4 separate regions of the Homo sapiens genome follow, and regions 1, 2 and 4 are each linked to region 3. Evidence: promoter capture Hi-C in 16 types of primary human blood cells and fetal thymus (Javierre and others, 2016). All regions are on one chromosome and are shown on one strand. Each heading gives the region's core, a stretch centred on a gene start or on the middle of the fragment in contact. The rest is flanking DNA. Distances are from core to core; before and after follow the strand shown.

Evidence for each region. Contacts are between HindIII fragments. The CHiCAGO score rates a contact against its expected background, and 5 or more counts as called.
Region 1: a contact is called between a fragment that was not itself captured here and the fragment with the promoter of PDZK1IP1 in region 3, in 2 of 17 cell types (megakaryocytes and erythroblasts). The highest score is 9.4, in megakaryocytes.
Region 2: a contact is called between a fragment that was not itself captured here and the fragment with the promoter of PDZK1IP1 in region 3, in 1 of 17 cell types (endothelial precursors). The highest score is 5.2, in endothelial precursors.
Region 4: the fragment with the promoter of FOXE3 here is called in contact with the fragment with the promoter of PDZK1IP1 in region 3 in 7 of 17 cell types (total CD4 T cells, activated CD4 T cells, endothelial precursors and 4 more); the score reaches 7.5 in total CD4 T cells.

The regions. Positions count from the first base shown.
Region 1 is chr1:47,337,136-47,340,497 of GRCh38, forward strand. All of the region lies in intron 1 of CMPK1 (cytidine/uridine monophosphate kinase 1), which reads left to right. Among named protein-coding and RNA genes, the nearest start is that of CMPK1, 5.0 kb to the left of the region's middle. The HindIII fragment of the contact is 166 bases long and covers 1,703-1,868 here.
Region 2 is chr1:47,363,209-47,366,699 of GRCh38, forward strand. The region is part of intron 1 of CMPK1 (cytidine/uridine monophosphate kinase 1); the gene reads left to right. Among named protein-coding and RNA genes, the nearest start is that of CMPK1, 31 kb to the left of the region's middle. The HindIII fragment of the contact is 4,857 bases long and covers 1-3,491 here.
Region 3 is chr1:47,188,550-47,191,773 of GRCh38, forward strand. PDZK1IP1 (PDZK1 interacting protein 1) reads right to left here and starts at 1,487. Exons shown (of 4, transcript NM_005764.4): 1 at 1,317-1,487. The coding sequence starts at 1,383. RefSeq lists a silencer at 1,768-2,062 and an enhancer at 2,892-3,224. The HindIII fragment of the contact is 10,710 bases long and covers 1-3,224 here.
Region 4 is chr1:47,415,024-47,418,201 of GRCh38, forward strand. It overlaps FOXE3 (forkhead box E3), which reads left to right and starts at 1,262. Exons shown (of 1, transcript NM_012186.3): 1 at 1,262-3,029. The coding sequence starts at 1,293. The coding sequence ends at 2,252. The region is part of intron 1 of LINC01389 (long intergenic non-protein coding RNA 1389); the gene reads right to left. The HindIII fragment of the contact is 18,012 bases long and covers 1-3,178 here.

The DNA of each region.
Region 1 (3,362 bases), core at 536-3,035, 150 kb after region 3:
AGCCGGGCGTGGTGGCAGGCGCCTGTAGTCCCAGCTACTTGGGAGGCTGAGGCAGGAGAATGGCATGAACCGGGGAGGCGGAGCTTGCAGTGAGCCAAGATCACGCCACTGCAGTGCAGCCTGGGTGACATAGCGAGATTCCATCTCAAAAAAATAAAATAAATAAATAAATAAATACATAAATGAAATAATCTACACATTCTGCAATTATTCTTTATTCTGTTCAGTAATGGCAAATAATATTTTAAACTTGTTAATTATCAGTTACAAGATTCCATGATGAGATATGTTCTGTAATGTATTATATTATTAAGATTTCAACAATTATTTGACCTTAAACTGTTATCTTCTTTAATGAAAAGTATTCTCTTGAGTCTAGTTGCCATAAACTTTATTAAGCTGTCAATCAACTAATTCCAAATAGTTTATAATTTAGCAATTGCTATTCCCTAGCTGGCTAGACAGACACTGGAATATCTATTTTTTTTTTTTTTTTGAGACGAAGTGTCACGCTGTCGGCCAGGCTGGTGTGCAGTGGGGCAATCTTGGCTCGCTGCAGCCTCCATCTTCTGGATTCAAGCGATTCTCTGCCTCAGCCTCCCGAGTAGCTTGGACTACAGGTGCGCGCCACCATGCCCGGCTAATTTTTGTATTTTTAGTAGAGACGGGGTTTCACTATGTTGGCCAGGCTGGTCTCGAACTCCTGACCTCGTGATCCACCCACCTTGGCCTCCCAAAGTGCTGGGATTACAGGTGTGAGCCACTGTGCCCGGCCTGGAATATCTATTGTTAGTGAAGTCAGCGGTATGTTGTTTTTTTCCTTTGTGAATCTCTTTATTTTGACTCAATATTTTTTTATACAGGCAATTATAAACTAAATTCCAAAATAATGTAAGTTTTGGAGGTTTTTTTCCTGTAGGAAAAAAATTACATAAATCCACGGTAAATTCTCCAATTAATCTGGCTGAAGCTAATGCAGCTCACAGGGCACCTGAAATTGTTACTTTAGTATGTTGATTTCCAACTCAGGCTGCCAGAAGTACATATTTGAGTCCTAGCTACAGAATCTTCAGTTGACAGGAAGAGAAGAAAAAGAGAAAACCAAAAACCCTTAGGGATATCTTGCTCTCTAAGGCACTGAAATTAGTGAAGTGGGTATTGTTAGAGGGAAGCTGGTATTTTTTCTCTGGAGGTGAATTCTGCTCTGCAAATTGCTCCTGGAGACCTAGAGAAGGTAAAGGCAAATCTGATACAGTGTCTTCTGAGAGTGTTCTGTACTGGGAAGGAAAGATTGGAGGGAGGTTTTGGGATTGATTTTGCACATTTATTTGTACTGATGTTTTTCAGTTTTGTTTGCTTTTCTCCTTCCTTCCTTCCTTCCCTCCCTCCCTCCCTCTCTCCTTCCCTCCCTCCCTCTCTCCTTCCCTCCCTCCCTCTCTCCTTCCCTCCCTCCCTCCTTCCTGTTCTTTCTTTTTCTTCTTTTCTTTTTTTTTTACCAAATACCCAGACTTGGAGAATTTGTTTTATTTTCTAATTGTTTGTAAATCTGTATCCTCTAATACTGAATTTGTTTTTGAAAATGAGCTATTTTCTAAATCAGTGTGATACTTAGAGTTAAGTTTCCAGAATGGAATTATTGTGCAATAATTTAGTTATAAAATCATGATGGGAATACTGTGTCATTCTTGAATTTTTAAAATTAAGCTTTATTTATATTTGTTGTTTTGGCCCAAATGAAATTATGTCAATGTAACCTAAATTTATATTTGAAAATAACCACCATTTTACATGCATTAGTTGGAAGAAATATTTAAACCTCTCTTTTAAAGATTGTGAACATTTTGCTTACATAAACAAATTATGACTAAAGCTTATAACCATGCCAAATTGCTTTCTGTAGCACCCAGAAAACTTTTTTTTTTTTTTTTGAGAGAGGGTCTCACTCTGTTGCCCAGGCTGAAGTACAGTGGTGTGACCTCAGCTCACTGCAACCTCCGCCTCCTGGGTTCAAGAGATTCTCCTGCCTCAGCCTCCCAAGTAGCTGGGACTACAGACACATGCCACCATGAATGCCATGTTGGCCAGGCTGGTCTCGAACTTCTGACCTCAGGTGATCCACCTGCCTCAGCTTCCTAAAGTACTGAGATTACAGGCATGAGCCTTTGCGCCTGGCCTCACCCAAGAAGCATTTTATCATCTGTGTCAACTTCCTCCAGGGCCTGTGTGGGTAACTCTTACTTTGCCTGGCCATCCTACTTACTGCACTTAGAAAAAGTTTTGGATGATAATTGACTTTAAGCATATATAAATCAGAAACTTGATTTCATTTATCTTTGTGTCCCCAGTGTTGAACATTGTGCCTGACACATAGTAACTGCTTATTAAGCACTTATTGAATTATAAGTTGAATACGTTGGATTCATAGAGTTTATTGTTTGTCCTGAAGATGTAAAATTTTTAAAAATTCGATCCCCAGAGGGCGCTCCAGTGGCAGTTGGCTCTCCCATTTTAAGGACCAGAAGTGTTTGAATGTCTTCCTCTGATTTCTTTTTCTTTCTTCCTTTCCTTTTTTTTTTTTTTTTTTTTTTTTAAGACAGAGCCTTACTCTGTCGCCCAGACGGGAGTGCAGTGGCATGATCTCGGCTCACCGCAGCCTCCGCTTCCCGGGTTCAAGCGATTCTCCTCCCTCAGCCTCCTGAGTAGCTGCAATTACAGGCACCCACCACAACGCGTGGCTAATTTTTGTATTTTTAGTAGAGATGGGGTTTCACCATAATGGCCAGGCTGGTCTCAAACTCCTGACTTCAGGTGATCCGCCTGCCTCAGCCTCCCAAAGTGCTGGAATTACAAGCGTGAGCCACCGCATCCGGCTGCCCTCTTCCCTCCCCTCCCCTTCCCTTCCCTCCCCTCCCCTCCCCTCCCCTCCCCTTTCCCTTTCTTTCCTATTTATTTATTTATTTATTTGAGATGAGCTCTCCCTCTGTTGCCCAGGCTGCAGTGCAGTGGCACAATCGTGGCTCATTCTCACTGCAGCCTCCACCTCCCAGGCTCAACTGATCTTTCCACCTCAGCCTCCCAAGTTGCTAGGTCTACAGGTGCATGCCACCATGCCCAGCTAATTTTTTTTATTTTGTAGAAATGGGGTCTCCCCAGAGCAAGACTCCGTCTCAAAAAAAAAAAAAAGAGAAATGGGGTCTCCCTATGTTGCACAGGCTAGTCTCAAACTCCTGGATTCAAACGATCCTCCCACCTCAGTCTCCAAAGTGCTGGGATTGCATCGTAAGCCAGCGTACCCAGCCTGTCTTCCTCAGATTTCTCATGTAACACTTTTGTTTACTCTCAATGAATGAATCAATGATATG
Region 2 (3,491 bases), core at 865-3,364, 180 kb after region 3:
GTAACCCCCATCATAAATGAGGAGTGTACTGAATGTGTATGCTTTCACACCATTGTAAAGTCGAAAAATCCTAAATTGAACCATCCGAAGTTAGAGATTGTCTGTAACTGGTAAAAGTACTATTAGAACTGTTTTGAGGTTGGGTGTGGTGCCTCAGGCCTGTAATCCCAGCACTTTGGGAGGCCGAGGCGGGTGGATCATTTGAGGTCAGGAGTTCAAGACCAGCCTGACCAACATGGTGAAACTGTCTACTAAACATACAAAAAAATTTGCTGCGCATGGTGGCGGCTGCAGTGGTGGGCGCCTGTAGTACCAGCTACTTGGGAGGCTGAGGCAGGAGAATCGCTTGAACCCTGGAGGTGGAGGTTGCAGTGAGCCGAGATTGTACCACTGCACTCCAGCCTGGGCAACAGAGTGAGACTCCGCCTCAAAAACAAATAAACAAACAAACAAAAAACAGGCACGGTGGCTCACGCTTGTAATCCCAACACTTTGGAAGGCCGAGGCTGACGGATCATGAGATCAGGAGTTCAAGACCAGCCTGGACAACATGGTGAAACCCCATCTCTGCTAAAAATACAAATATTAGCCAGGTGTGGTGGCGGGCACCTATAGTCCCAGCTCCTCGGGACGTTGAGGCAGGAGAATCGCTTGAACCTGGGAGGCAGAGGTTGCAGTGAGCCAGGATTGCGCCACTGCACTCCAGGCTAGGTGATCGACCGAGATTCCGTCTAAAAGGAAAAAAAATGTTTTGAAACAGATAATAGACTTACATAAAGTGTTGCTGGGATGTTGTGGGCTCTAAAGCTGTTGTTTGCAGCAGGTACCAGACTGGTGCATCTGGATGACCTCCCCCCATAGTACCTGCAGCATTTTGGGGTGTTTGGGTGAAGGTGGATTGTTGACAGCACATAACCAGCATTTAGATTTTAAGGATCTGCCTTTAGATATGGGTTCATGGCCAAAAGAAAAAAAAAGATTCTAAGGTTTAGTAGTCTTATGGAGAATGCAACATAACCTTAGTCTTCGATGCTTCATAGATGTAAATCTAAAGGACGCCTAATAGTTTTATATATATATTTTTTGTTTGTTTGTTTTGTTTTGGTTTGGTTTTTTTGTTTGTTTGTTTGAGACAGTCTTGCTCTGTCACCCAGGCTGGCGTGCAGTGGCGCAATCTCAGCTCACTGCAAGCTCCGCCTCCCGGGTTCACGCCATTCTCCTGCCTCAGCCTCCCAAGTAGCAGGACTACAGGCGCCTGCCACCACGCCTGGCTAATTTTTTGTATTTTTAGTAGAGACGGGGGTTTCACCATGTTAGCCAGGATGGTCTTGATCTCCTGACCTGGTGATCCACCCGCCTCAGCCTCCCAAAGTGCTGGGATTATAGGTGTGAGCCACCATGCCCAGCCATATATTTATATTTTTAATATATAATAATATAAATTATATACTATATTACATATAAATTTTATATATTATATGCCATAAGTTATGATATAAATTGTATAATATATAATATATGAAAATGTAATTTATATATTATACATTATGTGAATTTATATATGTTTTGTTTTGTTTTTTAGAGACAGAGTCTTGCTCTGTCTCCCAGGCTGGAGGGCAGTGGCATGATCATAGCTCACTACATCCTGGGCTCAAGTTTTCCTCCTGCCTCAAACTCCTAAGTAGCTGGGACTACAGGTGCACATAGCCTTGCCCAGCAAATGTTTTTATTTTTTGTAGAAACATGTTCACTGTGTTGCGCATGCTGGTCTTGAGCGTCTGACCTCAAGCAATCCTCTCACCTTGGCTTCCCAAAGTGCTAGAATTACAGGTGTGAGCCACTGTACCTGGCCGTACCCAATAGTTTTAATTCACTTCAGTTGCTTTAAAAATACATTTGTATTTAATATCTCTGCTATGTTCCCTCTATAATGCAAGAGAAGCTCAGTAGCAGTTCAGTGGCAATTTCTAATTGCCACATTAATGGGAGGAAGTGCCTGGCATCTGGATCTCTTCCTGCCTTCAAAGACTTGCCATTTGTGCATCATTTGTACCCTGAAGATCTTTTTTTTTTTTTTTGTCTTGTGTTTTCGTTGTTTTCTGAATTTAGGAGAGATGCAGTTGCTAAGAAATGAGATAAGTTAGGCCAGTTGGGATGGCTCATGCCTGTAATCTCAGCACTTTGAGAAGCTGAGGCAGGTGGATTGCTTGAGCCCAGGAGTTTGAGACCAGCCTGGGTAACATGGCAAAACCCCATCTCTACAAAAAGTACAAAAATTAGCTGGATGCAGTGGCATGTACCACTAGTCCCAGCTACTCGGGAGGCTGAGGTGGGAGAATTGCTTAAGCCTAGGAGGTGGAGGTTATAGTGAGCTGAGATCGTGCCACTGCACTCCAATCTGGGTGACAGAGTGAGACCCTGTCTCAAAAAAAAAAAAAAAAAGTGAGAGAAATTGAACAAGATGGTTTGATATTTGACCCCATAAAGTTGTCAACATTTGCCTAGTTGTAGTAAAATAGAGTACCATTTTGTACTTGTTGTGAACATGGTGCTTTTTTCTCCCTCCAAATCTTAGTGCATGATCCGTAAAGGTTATTGAATTGTTTTTCAACTTCTTAAAGGAAAAATTTCAGTTAAAATTTTAGGCACTTATTCTAAATGAATTGAGTTTATATATTTGTCACTAGAAAATTACTATCTTTAGGTCAGGCATGGTGGCTCATGCCTGTAATCCCAGCACTTTGGGAGGCCGAGGTGGGTAGATCACCTGAGGTTAGGAGTTCGAGACCAGCCTGGCCAACATGGTAAAACCCCATCTCTACTGAAAATACAGAAATTAGCCAGGCATGGTGGTGCACGCCTGTAATCCCAGCTGCTTGGGAGGCTGAGGCACGCGAATTGCTTGAACCTGGGAAGCAGAGGTTGCAGTGAGCAGAGATGGTGCTCCAGCCTAGGCGACAGAGCAAGACCCTGTCTGAACAACAACAACAAAAAGCCACGATTTTTAGTTCAATAGTAGCTTGTAATTGTAGTTATAGTATTTGTAAGTTGCTATGGTTTTGAGTGTTGCTTTTAAGACTGTTGTTAGTTACCCACTAAGTTTTAATTGCAAGGAAATTTCAGAGAATGTGAAAAAGTTTTGGTTAAGACTGGAAAATATCTATTCTTGCTTTCCTCAAAACTGGCTTCAGTGATTACTTAATGACAGCAGAATGCTTTGAAAATATGCTCTTTAAAGTCTAGCTGTTACTAAAATACCATAATAACTTATATGTAAGTGATAGTTGCTTTTTTGTTGTTGCTGCAACTGTGGTAAGAGGAAAGCATTATTAGCAAAATCCTTAAGAAAAATATAGTATAAAAAACTGGTAAATAGAGAATTTACAAAAATGGAATGTGGGTGAGAACATGAGACACATGTGTATAGGTTTGACATCTTTATATTCATTTGAATTCTTTGTTTCCTTGGACTTTGCAGGTAAGGTTGTTTT
Region 3 (3,224 bases), core at 237-2,736:
CCTATATTTTGAGGGACCCAAGCTGGACATGAGAAAACCTTCCTCTGGCTCACTCCTGCTCAAATGTCCTCCTTTGAGTCTACCAAAAGCTCTCCTGCTGCAGTGGAGGCCTGACCTCTTCTCCGAGCCTGGCAAATATTGGGAAGGAGGAAGGAGGCTAGGAACTCTCTGGCCTGTAGTGAGGTCAGACCTCACTTATCTCCAGGGGAAGCAGAAGACACACAGTGTGATTACCCTCAGTTCCACACCTGCCAAAAAGCAGTATTTGGGAGTCATTGTTTCCCTAGGGGTTCAGACTGCTCCCTCAGGTCAGTGGTTGCTCAAGCATGGGGAGTTAGGGCTCAACCCTTGGAGGCCCCTCCCTGTTTCCTCCTAGACCCTGCAGCCAATTCTCTCCAGTCACCCCAGGGACCACAGTCCCTGCTCCTCCTCCCATGCACATACAGCAAGGGGCAGTGTCTGGGGCAGGAGAAAGGTGGTCTGAACCCTGTCCTTTCTTGCCGTGCTCTGTGACTCAACCTCTCTGGTCTGCAGTTCCCCAGAGGGCTTCCAAGACCTGGGAGACAGAGTTGAAGCAGACACACATAAGAGCTCGGGGTGGGGGTGGGAGGGGAGCTCTGAAAGCATCTTTGCCAGTCCCCTCTGGACCAAGTCCCACCTGCAGAGTCCCCAGACTTTGGCTGCAGATGCAGCCTGACAGTGTAGAATGAAAGCCAGACCTTGGGTTAGTTACTTCACCAGGTGCAAAGCCCTTCTTCACCTCTGACCTGGCAGCAGCCCTGGGAGGTGGGCAGGGTGGGGTTTATTGTTCTCATTTTATAGGTGAGAAAACTGAGTCTCAGGAAGGGGCAGTGATTTGCTCAAGGTCACACATCCATTCAGGCAGAGCAGGACGAAGAGGTCAGATATTTGGGGGAGTCACACTGGGCACTGTTCTCTATCCAAGCCCAAGAGGCCGAGACAAAGCCCAAGTCTTTGAGGGGTGGCTTGGGCCCCACTCTCACCCTACTTGTACCCCCGGGTCCCCTGTACTCAGGACCCAGCCATCCCTTGGGCAATGCCTGCTCTTGGGGCTTGGGCCTCAAATCCTGTTCCTCCCTGAGATCCTAGAACCAACTGCTGCCAGTTTTCACTCGTTGAAAACAAGTGACAGGCAGAGACTTGGTTCAGAGGTCTCTGCCTTGGGACATTCTTTCAGCTAGCGCAGTCCCTGCTCCCCCTCCAAACTGTAAGTATCAAGGCCCTGGGGAGGGGAGCCAGAACACCACCTGTCCACCCCTGGGTCTCCCGTGCCCAGCCCTCTCCTCCTGAGCTACCTTGCTGACAGCTGGCAGGTGGCACTGCCGTGAGCAGGCCCAGAATGAGGAGGCTGAGGGCCGACATGGCTGCAGCAGCTCCTAGCCTTGCTTCTGGCCGCCGGTGTCTGGGCTCCTGGAGCTGCTGTGGAGTCTATTGGTGTCCGCCTGAAATCAACCTGGGCTCAGTCTGGCCCTGGAGGAGAGGAGCTAGGAAGGAGGAAGGCGAGGGAGGGAGGAGACACGAAGACGGGCGTCGGAGAGAACGTGCCCTCCCTCCCATGGTAATGAGCTGCCAGACCTGGCCTCCCCTGGCTGGTGCCCAGCTCACTTGGGCTGGCATTCGAGGTCATCTTCCAGGGGCCAGCTAAGGAGGTGGGTATGAGGAACAAGCAGATGTGGGAGAGTCCCAGCCTCACCTCCATGCCCTGAGCTCCCTTTTCCTGGCAGTGGGGCTGGATTCTAGGGAAAGGGGTGACACACAGTCGCTCCTGCCTTGACTGAGCCCAGTGGGCGGGGCTTCTTGGAAGGCTGACAGTGGGATTAAGAAATGTCCTGGCTGGCTCAGGAGCCTGGGGAAAACCCCAGAAGCCCAGAGAAGGCTCAAAGCTGCCAGACTCCGCCGAGAGCCTGGCCTATTTCCTGTTCTCCCCACCACCTGCCCCTGCCCCGCCAAGCTAAACTCTGGGACTCTAATGCTGGGACACACTACGGCTTCAGTGCCTTCCACGCCCTGGCCCAGCCCAGTAGCTTCCTAAATCCACCCCCTTCTGCAAAGATCTCAATAGAGGGCCTGAAGGTCCCAGTCCCCAGCTTTCACAGCCCATGCCCAGGCCCTGACCCAGCACAGCTAACCTAGTCCCAGTTCGGTTCTTCCTCTTGGCCCCAGATGTGGTCCCTGGAAACCGGGCAGGGCCTCAAAACAAGATACAGCCTTGGTCAGAGGCTTCAACACCCAACTTCAGATCCATCTCCACCCATGGCAGAGGAGAAAATGGGCAAACACAGCCTGCTGTGGGGGACAAAGGACGGACACCCCAGATGGCAAGGTGCGATCTGGGGCCCTGAAGCCCTGGGCCCGTCACCCTCATAGCCAAAAGCAGCATTGAGGAAGGCACACCTAGCCCCTGGAACAGGGAGGCCCTGGAGCCAGAGCCCTCGGAAGAGGCAAAAGCCTCCCCAGGATCACGTGGTGTCCACCTGGCCCTCCAGCTCAGGGAATGAGAATGGCCAGAGTTCCTGTGCAAGCCCCTGACCAAGGGTCATGCTGGTCTCCTTGCCCCACCCCCCACCCCAGAAGTATGGGAAGCTGAGATGCTGACTCCCTAGAAAGGAGCGGGCCAACTGGAACAAAGTCTCATCAGAGATGGAAGGTCCCCAGGAGCCAGCACCTGAGCTGAAGGCACCTCCACAGCCTCTCTTCCCTGAAGCCACCAAACTCCTATTCATCAGGCCTCCTGGGCAACCCTTCCTATGGCAGGTTGATTCTGCCTTCCTGCTCCAGCGGGAGCACTCAGACATCATGCCTCAGGCCTGCTTCCTGTGTGTGTGTGTGTGTGTGTGTGTGTGTGTGTGTGTGTGTGTGTGTGTGGTGTGTGTGGGTGTGTGTGTGTGTGTTCACATGCGTGTGCAGTCGGGCCCATTGCCATCCAAAGATGGAGTGTCTCAAGGTGATCTGGGAGAACTTTGCTTGGAGTTGAGTGATGCCTCCCAAACATGTATATCCTGGCCTCCCTCCCACACCCAACTTGGTGTCCTCAGAATCTTCTAACACAGACTGGAGTAAGCACTGTGCATGTTAATGAACAGCCAGAGAATCACTGATTGGAATGTAAGGAATGGGGCTGAATTTAACAAACATCTACTGGTGCCTTCTCCAAGAATTTTAGGGAGGAGAGTCACATGGTTAGTTTTGCGTTTGGGAAAACA
Region 4 (3,178 bases), core at 12-2,511, 230 kb after region 3:
CCCAAATGTAAGGAGGCCCTGGCTCTCAAGTGCTGACTGCACTTGCAAGGCCCTGAGACTGAGCTCCCCTTAAACTCAGCACCTCAGGCACCTCAGTGGGCTCACTGTCCTTCCAGCCCTGCTCCATGTCCAAGTCCCTTGATCTGCCTGTCCCCAGGACAACCCACTTTAAGACAAGGCTCCTTCACCCTGTAGTTCCCTTGGAGCTGGGGATGGGTCTCCTGTCTCTTGGGAGAAGAAGTTTCCCAAAATAGGCTGGGTGCTGCATCCCCCTGGATGCCAGTTGTGGGTGGAACTTCTCAGACTGAGTTTTTAACAAACACTGCCAAAGACCCCCCATCCCCAGTGAGATGTGAGTGTGGTGTTTCTGGGTCAGAAGGCGGCTTTTTCAGACCCCCAGTCTGTGGAAGCCTACATTTTGTACTGTGTGTGTGGGTGTATGTGTGTGTGTGTGTATGTGAAGAAAAGCTGTTTTCTTTAACAGGGGGGTGTGGAGAGGAGGCAGCCAGAAAGGCAGCTCCAAGTTGTGGATTTCCTGGGGGCTCTTCATTTAAAGCGGCCGCACCACTTTCCACAATTCTGTTTTTTCAGAGAATGCTCTCAAGGCCTGGAGGGAGGGCATGACAGGGGTATGGGGGAGGGGGGTGGCAGAGAGGCAAGATGGTGACCCTGATCTGGAGCAGTCAAACATTCTCCCAGAGACAAAACCGGCCTGGCTCTGCCCTGCCCCGCTGCTTCATTACCTTGGCCCAGGTTCCCTAATGTCTGTGAGTGGGCCTGACACCTCCCCATCAGGATACTGAGGGCTGGCAAGGCGGCCTTCATCTCTGTTCCAGCTGGGGATGGAAGGCCAGGAGAAGGATGGGGGGACCGACTACTGGGAGGAGCAAAATGGGGAGGAGCAAAATGGGGAGGGGGCTGGGAGAGTGAATGGGTGGATTTGTGATTGGGAATGATCCAAAGGAGAGGGGGTAGAAGGAGGGGTGGAAAGGGAAGGGGACTGACCAAATACAGTGGGATGGGGCCAGGGGCTGATATAACCGAGATGGGGAAGGGGTGAGTCTGGGTCTGGGAAAAACTGATCCAAAGGCAGAAAGGGAGGGGCGAAATGGAGGAGGGTACCGTGAACAGAGTAAGGGGGCTGGGAGAGGAAATTAGAGGGGAGGCGCTGGCCAGCAGGCAAGGCCTGAGCCCTCTCCCCCGGCGGTGGTTGGGGGGGGGCCGTGTCCATATAAAGCGGGTCGGCGGCCCCTGCGGTCCCGGAGCCGCGCGGGCAGGGGCTGCCGCAGCCGATGGCGGGGCGCAGCGACATGGATCCGCCCGCCGCGTTCTCTGGCTTCCCTGCCCTGCCAGCGGTCGCGCCGTCGGGGCCGCCGCCGTCGCCGCTCGCAGGAGCCGAGCCAGGGCGGGAGCCAGAGGAGGCGGCGGCTGGCCGCGGAGAGGCGGCCCCCACGCCCGCGCCCGGCCCGGGGCGGCGGCGGCGGCGGCCCCTGCAGCGCGGGAAGCCGCCCTACTCGTACATCGCGCTCATCGCCATGGCTCTGGCGCACGCCCCGGGCCGCCGCCTCACGCTGGCCGCCATCTACCGCTTCATCACCGAACGCTTTGCCTTCTACCGCGACAGCCCGCGCAAGTGGCAGAACAGCATCCGCCACAATCTCACGCTCAACGACTGCTTCGTCAAGGTGCCCCGCGAGCCGGGCAACCCGGGCAAGGGCAACTACTGGACGCTGGACCCCGCGGCCGCAGACATGTTCGACAACGGCAGCTTCCTGCGGCGCCGCAAGCGCTTCAAGCGCGCCGAGCTGCCCGCGCACGCGGCCGCGGCGCCAGGGCCGCCGCTCCCCTTCCCCTACGCGCCCTACGCGCCCGCGCCCGGCCCCGCGCTGCTGGTGCCGCCGCCTTCTGCCGGACCGGGCCCCTCGCCGCCCGCGCGTCTGTTCAGCGTCGACAGCCTGGTGAACCTGCAGCCGGAGCTAGCGGGGCTGGGCGCCCCCGAGCCGCCCTGCTGCGCCGCGCCCGACGCCGCAGCCGCAGCCTTCCCGCCCTGCGCTGCCGCCGCCTCCCCGCCACTCTACTCGCAGGTCCCCGACCGCCTGGTACTGCCCGCGACGCGCCCCGGCCCCGGCCCGCTGCCCGCTGAGCCCCTCCTGGCCTTGGCCGGGCCGGCAGCCGCTCTCGGCCCGCTCAGCCCTGGGGAGGCCTACCTGAGGCAGCCGGGCTTCGCGTCGGGGCTGGAGCGCTACCTGTGAGCCTGCGCCGCGCGGGCAGGCACCTGTGCGACCTGTGCCCCGGACCTGCGGCGCCGCCCTCGAGCGCCCCATCTCTACCCCCCACCCTGGCTTGGAGCACACCCTGCGCCTCTCGTCGTGGCCTCCTGGACTCAAACTCCTGCTACATCCTTCTCCGTCCCCCATCCCTGGGGAGGCTCCCACCATCTCGCCACTGGACAGAAGCGTCCCCTTTGACCTGCCAGCCTCTCATTTCTTCTCCCTCCACTTGTGAGCGCCCCCAGCTTTGCGGCGCCCCCCACCCCAGCGCTGTCTGTGGGTCCCTTGCCCCGGAGCTGACTCGCCTCCAGTGAGTCCATACCCCAGGTTTCCTGGTGAGTTCCAAGCCTTTGGAAGCCAGATCTGTGATCCCAAGCCGCCTCCTCCACCGACTGTACTTCATCAACCTTCTCTCATGTTTTTCCGACACTCCTGGGTCAGACTCCTGGGTTCATGACTTACTTGCTAGCGTCCCTTCATTTTCCCACAAGTTTGCCCCCCACCTCCACTTACCTGTCTGCCCTCAGCTTCTTCCTGGGAGAGAGCCCCCCTTTCACGTAGACACACCTGGCTGCCTTCTTCACGCCCTGAGGACACTTCTTGGAGATTTCAGACAGGCAGCACCAGGGCTCCTGACTGAAAGGGGAGTTGGTGGGCCTTTAGGTCTGCCCCATCCCCTGGAAAACTTAGGACTTATTGGGTTATTATTATTTTTAATTAAAGCTGGTTTAATTAAAAAGAAAGAAACTTTTTTCTGGACTTGGTGTGCTGGCTGGTGACTTGGGGGAGTGGTCTGGGGAGACGGGTGAGCTTTATTCTAGATCTTGGGTTGCCACATGGGGTGAACCTCCTTGTGAGACATCAATCAGAAGTTCATGAAATGGGATTAGGAAGTGATTCTCCAGCAG